Regions from separate parts of the Homo sapiens genome. Here region 1 is linked to region 2. The links are contacts of gene promoters, found by promoter capture Hi-C in blood cells and fetal thymus (Javierre and others, 2016). All regions are on one chromosome and are shown on one strand. The core of a region is centred on a gene start or on the middle of the fragment in contact, and the rest is flanking DNA. Distances in the headings are between cores, read along the strand shown. Region 1 overlaps NKAIN2 (sodium/potassium transporting ATPase interacting 2). Region 2 holds the start of NKAIN2 (sodium/potassium transporting ATPase interacting 2).

Region 1 (5,501 bases), core at 1,695-4,194, 170 kb after region 2:
TGCTGAGTACTGGGCCAAGCACCATTTCTGTAGTTAGACTTACAACTTGCCCCCCTTTTGACTCTGCTACTCTCTATTGTTTGTTATCTTATCCTACCAATAATTGCAGCTTTTCATGTCCTCATCATATTTCCCATACACTGGGCCAGAACTGGTGCTAGAAGAATCTTCCCTGTGGTTTTCCACCCCCAACTGAAGGTTGGTGTAGAGCACAGAAGTCCAACAAAGCCAATGTAACATCACCCAATGTGAACTGACACATTATGTGAAAAAAAAGGGGGGGAGTGTGTGTATATATACACATACTCACAACTACATAGATATAGTATACATTTGAAGAAAGTATTGGTTCTTACACTTTCTCCTTTTAAGTATAGAGTGAGGGTTCTTTTCTCCTTCTTTGTTCCTCCACTTCGATTATGTACAAACTCCCTTAAGGTATTAAAGGTGCCCTGAGGAGCCAGTGTGCTCGCTCTCTGTGGTATCTCAACACTTAACTAATCGTGCCTATAAAGTGACGCTCTAAGGGCTCACTTAAGAAGAGGAGAAGAGGGTTCAGGTGCCTCTCAGGATGTAAAATGATGAGTTCTGGATGCATATTTCTAACAGATGGACACGGCATTAAGAAAGCAGCCACAGAAGGCAGCAGGTGGAGCAGGCAGCTGGAAAGCGCAGCCACTTGCAGGAGCACTTGACATTAATTACACCTGTTGGAATTCTCGCCCAACTTTTTGCTTTCAAATGTGTTCTCAGTATAATCACTGTGAGGCAGGGGGAAAAGAAAAGCAGCTGAGGGCTGGAAACAGGAAATGGAGCACTTGCACTGAGAGCAAAGAGAAAGAGGTGGGCCAGGGGGACGGCTTTTCTGGCTCATGCCCTTCAATTAATCACATGTCCAAAATAGGAGCCACGGGTGCTATTACTTATAGTGGTCCAGATGATTCCATCTTGGGGCTGAAGAGGACAATTTAAAAACAATTAAACAAATGTTCAAAGCAGTAAAAGCAGGAGTATGCATTCAGTCCTTTAGAAATTAAACATGTTGCTCTGTATCTGAAGAGATTAAATATATACATTTAATGTTTTGTATCATCTGAGCTCATTTCAAAACTTTCTTGGGCCATGTAGTGATTTTCCAAATCTCTGAGATTCTTCATTTATTTCTGCCTGTACAATGGGATCCTAGCTTTCTCTAAGCTGTGTCCTAGTTATCAGCACAACTTGCATCTTCTGCTACTCTATGGCTCACAGTGTGGCTCCTTTCATGATAAACTTATATCATTGCCTGAAGCTGTGTGGATGTTCTAGTCTGCTTCCGCTATTCTTTCTCTCTGGAATGCCCCTGTTAGCCTTACAAATTTCTGCTCACCATTAATTGTGAACTCAAGGGTTAAATGTGTAATAAAGCCTTCAGTGATTGTCCCAGGCAGACCTGAGCCTTCACCCTCCTCAGAGTCACAGGACCTTTCCCATTCATTTTCAAAGTGTGGAGCACCTTGCTGTGCTGGGCTGGCCTGGACCCCCTCCTCTGGGCCATGAGCTCTGTGAGGAGAGCTCCATTTCTACTCTTCTGTAGTTTCCTCCTTCCCCCCAGCTCATAGTCCCCCACTTTATAGTTCTGACTAAATGTGATTTGAATATAAGTTGCCTTTACCTGGAGGTATAGGTCCCACCACTGAAAAATAATTTTAACCCAATCTCAGTATCTCCTGAGAAAAAATAAGATGCGGCTTTCAAAACTATCAATTGTCTTCAGGTTTTTGCTCACTTTCCAGTGAGACTTACCCTGACTACCACTGTATTACAAAATGGCAAGCGCCTTAGGTATTAATGTGTGATGGGATTTTTGCTCATTATGGTATGAAATGATGTGAGGTAAAACATATATTTTTATAAGGAATAAGGATGGAGTTAAAAAGGTCTGTTGAAGTGAAGTAAAGAGGAAATGGAAATAAACATGATTGTGAAGAGATGGCTGCGGTTTAACAATGCATCCAGCTGAAGAATAAATCTACCTCTGCTAATAATAGAGGTTGATTTTTCTCACCAAGATGACTGGCACACATTTATGTAGACCTAAATGAAGGGACCGTTGCACTAGCTCAGTAATGCCGGAGCCAGAATCTGTGTAGTAAGACTTTTTTGTTTTTCTCTCATGGTTTCAAGATGCCTGCCAGAGCTTCAAATAGCATGCCTATTTTCAAAAGGAATGGAGAAGAGAGTTGCACAGAGACCTTTAACACATTTATCAGGAAAGCAAAAGCTTCAACAGAATCCACTCTGGATACAGTTGCCAGTGTCTAGATGGGCAATGCCTTGATGTCACTTAGCTTCCCCTAGGACAGAGTAAAGAAAGGAAGGATTTTACTTTCCCAGCCTCTGTCCTGGAGCTGGGAGAGAGGAAAAGGGATTTGGAATGATCTCTGGGTTACCCAACCAGCAGTGTCTGCCGCAAAAATAACTAGTAGATAAAATGAATTGGCCAAAATAAGTAAATTGAAAGAAGACATTCACTTATAGTGGATATATAAGTAAAATGAATAATTCAATCAAAGGATAAAATAATATGTCTTAGGACAAATGCATAAACTAGATGTATGTATCAAATACATAATTTTAAAAACAAGATATGAGAGCAGAATTGTACAATATTATACTACTCATGTCATTAAAACACACAAAATACTGATTATTAAATGGATATATATATATATATGTATAAATGTTTAAAAACATAAACTGGAAGATACACATCAAATTCAGCCTAGTAGTTGCCTTCTTTGTGGAAGAAGAGGGTAATAGGGAAGAGGAACAAAAGGAACTTCATTTTATTTTGCAAAGTTTCACTCCTGTCACAAAATCAAATGGTAAGGCTGGTATGTATATGAGAGTTTGGTGAGAAAAACAACTAGAAGAAATAGTAAGAGTTTAAATTTAGTTCTATCACTGAAAATAAATTTAAAGGAGCATAAAATGAAAACACAGATGGGATTCTAATTGCCACGAAAGCCTAAGAAATAGAGACATAATTTACCACGGGAAATAGTACTGAATGAGGAAGAAGCCCCAGAATCAGCCTTTGACTTTGGTTCTGAACTTACTCACTTTGAACTTTAGCTTTCTGACTTGAAAGATGAGGATTTTTGTTTTTATTTTTTCATTGTTCTTTAGAAATATTTATCGTTTGGCTGGGTGTGGTGGCTCATGTCTGTAATCCTAGCACTTTGGGAGGCCAAGGAGGGCAGATTGCCTGAGCTCAGGAGTTTGAGACCAGCCTGGGTAACACGGTGAAACCCCATTTCTACTAAAAAAATACAAAAAATTAGCCAGGCATGGTGGTGCGTGCCTGTAATCGCAGCTACTTAGGAGGCTGAGGCAGGAGAATTGCTTGAACCCAGGAGGCGGAGGTTGCTGTGAGCTGAGATCGCGCCACTGCACTCCAGCCTGGTCGACGAAGTGAATCTCTGTCTCAAGAAAAAAAAGAAAAAAAGAAATATTTATTTTTTAAGAATATTAACTATTTTGTAATAAGGCATGCTTTAAAACAATCTTTGCAATTTAAGTCATAAACTGTGGTGGTCCTGTAAAACATCAAAATTGTTCATTTATTTGATTTATATTTATTGAAAGCTTACTATATGCTGGAAGCCTAGGAAATAGGGCATAAATCAATCAAAAGTTCTAGTGCTAATGAAAATGATAGTCTGACTGGGGCCAGAGATAGTAAGTACATACTTAGTATATAAGGAAGCCCATGAAGCAAAATGTAGCAGGATCAGAGAGTACTCAGGGCCAGGTGACAGTGGAACTAATGCTCTAGTAGCTAGATTAGGTTTCTCTTACAAGGCACTATTTAGCCTAGAAAGAATGTAAAAGTCAAATATCTTTCACAAGTAACATTTGCTATGAGTAATTTAAATTATATATTATATAAAATATATTAATATAGTAATTATAACTGCCTTGTATTTTAATACGGATTTGTATGTGCTTCAAGGGGTTTTGTTCTTTCTTTTTGCACACATACTGCTTTTTATCATAGCACTCCCATCCAGACAAGAAGTATACATTCTCTGCTTTGTAGTCAATCTCTTTGTGTCAGTTTGGATGGAAACCTGACTTTGTGTCAGTTTGGATGGTTTGATTCCTACACATCTAATATCTTGAGCGGATATTCCTGGATGAATAATGGTAAAGTTATCTCCCTTAGGAAAGCTTGTTGTCCCCATCATGTCTGTGTTACACAGCCATTGGATATACAACATTGGCTGGAGTGGGGAAGGTTTGGGGGATTTTCTTATCAGCTGTCTTCTGCTCTTAGTTAGTGAAATCTAACAAGCACCCAGACCGATAACATGTGAGTTTCCATTTGAAAGTTTGGCTCTTGTTTATAAATATTAATACGGTTGAAAGTTAATATATTTTGAAAAATGCTTTAAGATGTTTTAAAAAAGGCTTTTAAAGTTTCATATTCTGCAAGAGTCTGGACAAGTAAAATACAATTGGCCTTTGAACAACATGGGTTTGAACCACACAAGCTTACTTATGCTCAGATTTCTTCTGCCTCTGCCACCCCTGAAACAGTAAGACCAAGCTTTCCCCTTCCCCAACCATTCAACATGAAGATGACAAGGATGAAGAGAGGATTCCATTTCCACTTAATGAATAGTAAATATATTTTCTCTTTCTTATGCTTCTCTTAACATTGTTTTCTCTAGCTTACTTTATGGTGAGAATACAGTACATAATACATAGAATACACAAAATATGTGTTCATCAATGGTTTATGTTATCAGTATGACTTCCTGTCAACAGTAGGTTATTAGTAGTTAAGTTTTTGGAAAGCCAAAAGTTACTGTGTGAGGGGTTGGCACCCATAACCTCCATATTGTTCAAGGGTCAACCATACATTATTTAGATTTGATCAAACTGGATTTTTAGTATGTTTTTGATTTTAGGTCATCACAGAACTCAAGGGATTTCTGAGACAAATAGCCTAATGGAAGATTAAACGCAAACTGAAAAAGATCTTAATTTACTGAGAAAACTGGAGATAGGAACTAAGGTTTAAAATCTGAGTAGCTGAGAAGCTGCCACTTATTCCAGTGTCTGAAACATGGATATATTGAAAGATTGAAAGAAAATCTTATAATTGAACAGTGAGCGTCTTTGGATATTGTGTAAAAAGCTCTATAAAAGATAAGAGCCTGATGTTAGCTTGGAGAAAGTCCCCCTTGCCTTATTAATGTTGGTAAAACTTTGTTACTACTCAAAAAATAGCCATCAACTTTAAAACCAACAAACATTTTCATAAGCCACTAATATTGACCATGCCATTTAGTTCTACCTTATTTATTCTTTGACTTCCAGGAATAGATTCCCTTTCCTCCTCTGGAGATCATGGGATTGGAAATTTTGGCCAATGGTAGATAAATACAAAGTTGTTGTGAGGTCTGCATGTGTGCTGGAATATACATACTGTGGTTAGAAAAGTGCCTGAT
Region 2 (5,812 bases), core at 2,035-4,534:
AATACTTATGTCACCATATTAGTCAACAAAAGGTCTAACACCTTATATAGCAAAACAGTTTATGACCTTATTTCTAAGTGAAAATGCAATCAACATTCAAATTGGAGACATCTCTCTCCTTCACAAACGTCTGTGGAACTGTTGGGATTCTCTTTTTAGTCTCTTCTACTAAGACACTCAGTTCCAGGAATAATAGAAAACAGAATAGGAAGTGCATAGCCACATTAAGTTATAGAATTGCATCTATAACTAGGGTGCCCTTTCATAAGTCAGGCATTGCCTATACTGTATGTAAAGGATGTGATGCCAATTTAGAGATAAAATATGTGTGATTATTCTTCTAAATATTTTTGTCATCACTTTCGTATGGAATTCTAAAAGAATGACAGGGAAGTATATTGAAATAAAGGAGTGTGGTACAGTAGTTCGAAAAGCGAATTTTGGTGTCTTATAATCATGCCCTTCAAATTCTAATTCTGCCGCCAAGAACACGTGCACCCGTGATAAAAATATTTGATTTCTCTCTGAGTTTGTATATCTTTAGAATGTGCATTGTATCAACTCATGTGTTTCCTGTGAGGAATGAATGAGACGATGTAGGTTTAGTACATAAGGCAGTAGTTGCACATAGTGAAGTCTCAACATTGTTTGTAGTTCACACTTCTGAGAACACTGTGCCAATGACGTCAGATGAGGTATAAAAGCCCCTGGAGACTGCCTTAGGTTGGGATTCTCAAGAGGCAGGCTCTGACACAAGGATTTGAGTGGTTTATTTCAGAGGTGATCCCAGGAAGCAGTGGTATGAAAGCAGGGAGATGAGGCATGGAAGGGAAGGAAGCCAATTCAGAGCGCATGAATGAGCCAGTTACTACTGTGGACACCTAGGGCTCAATCTCGGTGGGGACCTTAATGGTGTAGACTAGAACATGTCTGACGGTTTCCCATATGAGGATTGAAGAAGCTGGGGTATTTATCCTCCAATTCCCATCCATTATTGCGTGAGGGTAGCTCTTAGGGCTGGAACCTTATTGTTCAGCCAAGCACCTCCAATGGCTAGAAAACAGACTGTCCCAAGTGATTACAAAAACGCAAGCATGGACTGAAAGGGCACAGTCCAAGAACTATGGTGGGGCACTGCTGGAGTCAGCTACAGATAGCATTCTGCTTTCCTATACAACCTAAAGATTACTCAGGCTATTGCTGGTTGCAGGGAAACCTCTGCAGGATTACGGAGGGATCCATATAAATGTGTTGTTCCTATGATTAATTTGAGGAGGTAATAGAATGCTTTTGACAGTATGGCAGCAGCTTCTTCAACAGTCAATTAACTTACAGCTTTCTGTTTGGCAATGCAAAATACCCATAGCCCTAGCAGGTACAGGACAGCTAACGTGTATAAAGACAGAAGAGCAACTAAGAGAAACATTTTCCACTAGATAACTGGCTTCAGTTTTACCAAAGGTTGTGGAACTATTACCTTCCAGGCTTTGCAGTGCCTAAGAGCACATATTGGGCTCTTGGGAATTTTATTAAACATTGAAAGACACTTTTCAGAAGAAAAGCCCCTTTACAAATGGGTCGATTAAAACCAGACATTCTCATTATAGCAATAAAATATCTGTGCTCCATAAATTTAACAAAGTTAATCCCTTTTTGGCTCCCTAGGACTGACGAAACGTTTCTGAAAATTCAGTGCCAGGCTCTGGAGAATAGTCTCTCTGCCCTATTCAATTTATTTGTATTTAGTCATTCTGATACGTCATAATGTTTATTCAAAGGAAGCAATCATTCGGGATCCTTATTTGTGGTTCCCAGCATAACTTTATCCTGTATAAATGCCATTTTTCTCAGTAGGCGCCAAGTTCCAGTTGCTACAGAGAGCTCTCTGCTTGATGTGGCTTCGTCATCTTAATCTCTTAAGAAGGGTGCTAGGGAGCTGTTTGCTATTTAGCTCCCTAAACCATCCTCTTATCAATCGCGACACTTCACCCCAATGAGTCAGTTCCTCAGTGGATCTCAACAAATAATCTTCACTTCCTGGAAAAGTTAGGATTGCTTTCCTTAGCTGCCAGGGCTAAAAAGGAAACTTGGTCCTAAATATCCACGCCCCAGGGGCAGCCACTTGGGCCAGCATGTTGCGCCCTTCAGCTTTCCGCCCGCAGGTGGCAGCAGCGGGCTCCGAAGCCTGTCTCTGCAGGTAGCAGCCGCTTCACAGCTTTCAGGCCGGTGCTCAGCGGAGGCTGGTGCATCTCCACTAGGAATCCACACCCAGCTGGGACTGCTGTGAAGCTGAAGTAACTGAGTATTAAACTAGTCTCCGACTCTTTAGTATTTTAAGTGAAAACAAACAACAGTTTGAAGCAGCAACAGCAACTCATTGCATCCCTATTCCCTCCGGTTGCTAATTTTTCCCAACTCCAGCAGCAACTCGGTCCCCTTCCCCAAGCAGGGTCGGCTCCGTAGCTCTCCGCGCTCCGACCCTTCAGATCCTCGGGAGCCCAGGGGAGCCAGGTGCTGGGCGGTGCGTCCGGTGCCGCCGCGCCCCTTCTCGCCACCTCTGGCCTCTCCGCCACTCGGGCTTTCCGGCCGCTCTGGATGCCTCGGTTGCACCCCTGTTCCATGACCCCAGCTTCCTTCCCTAACCCTCCTCTTGGTCCCTTCTCCCCCGAGCGCGCGCGCACACACACACTCGGTTCGCTCCCGCGGAGTGGCTCTGGGAGCACGACCGACTTCAGCTCAGCAAACCGCGGTCATGCCGCCCAGACTCCTCGCCCCGAGGCCCCGGTCCCCGCCGCCGCCGCTTTCGCGCCGCTCCTTTCCGCCTAGACACCGCCGCCTGCGGCCGCCTGGGCGGCAGCCCCTGCGGTCCTCAAAGTTGGCCCCCTGGGAGGGGGCGGCAGGGAGCAGGATGAAGGATTTGTTGTAGGAGGAGGATTCACACATCTGGGCGAAGGGAGGGGCAGCGCCGCTGCTGGGACGCGGCGCGGACCCGCATCATTGCGCGCAGCAGCCGCTGCAGCAGCCGCCGGGGACCGCGGAGCCGGGACGCCCCCGCTCGGCCCGCGCCCCGCTCCCCGCCCCACCCCCGCCCGCCGGGCCCAGCAACGCAGGGTGCCTAGGAGCCGCGGGCTGCGCAGGGAGGCGGGCAGCGGCCCTCGCGCGCTTCTGCCGCCCCCGGAGCCGGCGCGCGGCGAGCGCAGGGCGAGCGCGCGTCGGGCGGCGGCCGCGCTGGGGGGCGTGAGGCGAGCGGCGCGGAGAGCGGCAGGGGCGAAACTTCGCGGGCCAGATGCCCGAGGGCGCGGCGGCGCTGCCAGGCTGCCGCTGCTGCCCCTGCGGGCCCCGAGCGCGCCTCCGCAGGCGGCACTGCCCGCGGCGCGGCGTGTGCACCGAGCGAGTGAAGGTATGTGTGGCGGGCGCGGCTGGAGCTGCCGCCGCCGCCGCCGCCGCGCCAGCAGGTCCTAATGCCTGTCACTTCCCAGGACGCTGGCAGCAGCAGCAGCCCGGAGCCCCCGAGCCCTCGGCAGGTTTGCGTGTCCTTCCCCGCGATCTGATTGGATAAAGTGGGGGCTCGACGGTGGCCGACGTGGGACAGTCTGGCTGTGGCAGGGGTCTCGGAAACCATGGGTTATTGCAGTGGCAGGTGCACGCTTATCTTTATCTGTGGCATGCAACTGGTAAGTGACACTTGGGTCCCCTTATTCTGTAATGTGTCTTTGAGATAGTGGGCAGGGGAGTGCAGCAAAGGGTCTGCCATTGACTAGAATGGACGAAAAAGATAAAAGAGAAGGTGACAGATATATTGCCTATATTGAAGATGATTTCAGGGAGACGCACTCTGGGGTACAGGAGAGGTGAGCCTTTCCGTTCCCACCTATTTCTGTCCCTTTTAAGACAGTTTGGCAGGTGCGGGTTAAACTTGTCTTTAATTTCTTTAGGAAAAGCAAGATGTAGCTCTTGTTCTTTATGCTTTGCATTCCTATTCATGTAACAACGTGATTGTCACCTACAATTTACCGTACAGGTTGTTAAACAGAGGAATACGGAATTTTGGACTTTTCTTCTCTATACTAATTTTGCAGTATCTTTGTTTCTTCATAGACATGTTTTTTTTCTTTTTTTAAGGAAAATGTTGTCTTTAAGTATAATGCTCTAAAAAAACCACTGTTTAGGGCACATGGTATCCTTACAACAGTCTAATTTAGACTGTTTGAGTTTTAGCCACATTGAGTTTTTAAAGTATGCAGATTGAACAAAAATACTTAGGTGAACTCAGCAACACCATTGTCATAGACGGAACCAGTAACCTTTAAATCACAATTAACACAGACAATTCCAAGAAAAACTATTCTGTCTTACATTATGCATATTATTGCTCCTGAAATAGATACTGTTGTCTGATCCTATAGGATGGAGAATTCTATGTACTTTTTGAGGAATGTTGTACAGTTGCAAAGGGGCAAGGAACCAATAATGGAAAACGTCATGTCTCTGAATTTCAATTCCCTAAGGGCAATGGAAGGAGGGTCTGAGTAGAGAGTTGAGAGGTGAAAAATACACCACTCTAAGTGGTTAATTTGAGGTAGGAGCTACTTGCTCACACTTGTCATTAAATATATTTCCTTAGAAAGTATAAATTAACTGGAATAGTCATGTCCGTTTTCAACAACTGTTTCATAAAGGTTGAAGTGACTACAAGGCAGAAGATGTTTAAGTGTCCAATCAGTAAAGTGTTCAAAAGAGCAAGGATTTGCCATTGAAACTGGCAGAGGAATTCCTTAAGTGTTCTTGTTTATCAGTTGTCGTGAAGCCCATGAGTGTTAGTTATTGCTGCTTTGTTTAATATTTAGCTGAAACAGTGCTTTTTGTTGTGTGTTGTCTTAGGATGTTTTTCTTTCCCCTGAAAGTTATCTGATGGTGTCTATTTTGATCTGTGATTTATGCGCTTATGCACTTGGTTGTAAGACAAAGATGGAACTATAAATGTAATTTTCAGAATGTGGTAGTTTCTCAATGATGTGTAAACCAGTTTATTTTTCTGTACCACAGATTCATATAAGTTTTGCAATGAAGGATTTTTACTCTTAATAATAAAGCTAACCAAAACAATGAGGGAGTTTACTTTGTTAAACAACCCATTAGGCTAAGTCTGCCAAACTGTATAAAGGTTTTCAAAACATTCTTATTTTTATATATTATTCAGAAAAAGAATACATTTGCTGATTCACTGTGTGAAAGCATAAAAATGTGAGAATGAGTGGGTGTGTAGATCATTCTTATGCTCTTTTCGATTTAAAATTTGAAAAATGTGATTTAACTTCTAATCATGTAATATAATAGGGCTTTCTTATGGCAAATGTATGCACTAGGTCTGTATGACATTTTGTGTGATGAATACAAACTCCTCAAGAACTTAATTTTAGAAAAACATAAATATACCAGTAGGGAAGCTATCTATTCAAAGTAGAATGATAAAGCTAAAGGTTCCTTTGTGTTTTTATGTGCTCACATATGTGTGTATGTACATATGCTCTTGAGTACATGCATGCATCCATACATACAATGGTGTCTTGGAGAGTTGCACCATCACTTATGAAACAGAAATTCTGAATTATAATTAAGTTCTCTAACAGAATAGACGTAGCTGTAATACAGAAGAGCACAATCTAAGTAAGTGTACATTGGAATCCTAAGGAGTTTTTATATTATATGAGAATCATGTGATTTTTCCCATTCAGACTTTATGTGCCACCAGGCTAATATAATTAGCAGCCATGTTAACGCAGATGCAGAACAAAAAACAAAGGACAAAGAA

What was found. Contacts are between HindIII fragments. The CHiCAGO score rates a contact against its expected background, and 5 or more counts as called.
Region 1: a fragment that was not itself captured here is called in contact with the fragment with the promoter of NKAIN2 in region 2 in 1 of 17 cell types (megakaryocytes); the score reaches 6.0 in megakaryocytes.

What each region holds. Positions count from the first base shown.
Region 1 is chr6:123,967,411-123,972,911 of GRCh38, forward strand. All of the region lies in intron 1 of NKAIN2 (sodium/potassium transporting ATPase interacting 2), which reads left to right. Among named protein-coding and RNA genes, the nearest start is that of NKAIN2, 170 kb to the left of the region's middle. The HindIII fragment of the contact is 1,367 bases long and covers 2,262-3,628 here.
Region 2 is chr6:123,800,581-123,806,392 of GRCh38, forward strand. NKAIN2 (sodium/potassium transporting ATPase interacting 2) reads left to right here and starts at 3,285. Exons shown (of 7, transcript NM_001040214.3): 1 at 3,285-3,674. The coding sequence starts at 3,621. RefSeq lists an enhancer at 2,041-2,090. The HindIII fragment of the contact is 9,489 bases long and covers 1-5,812 here.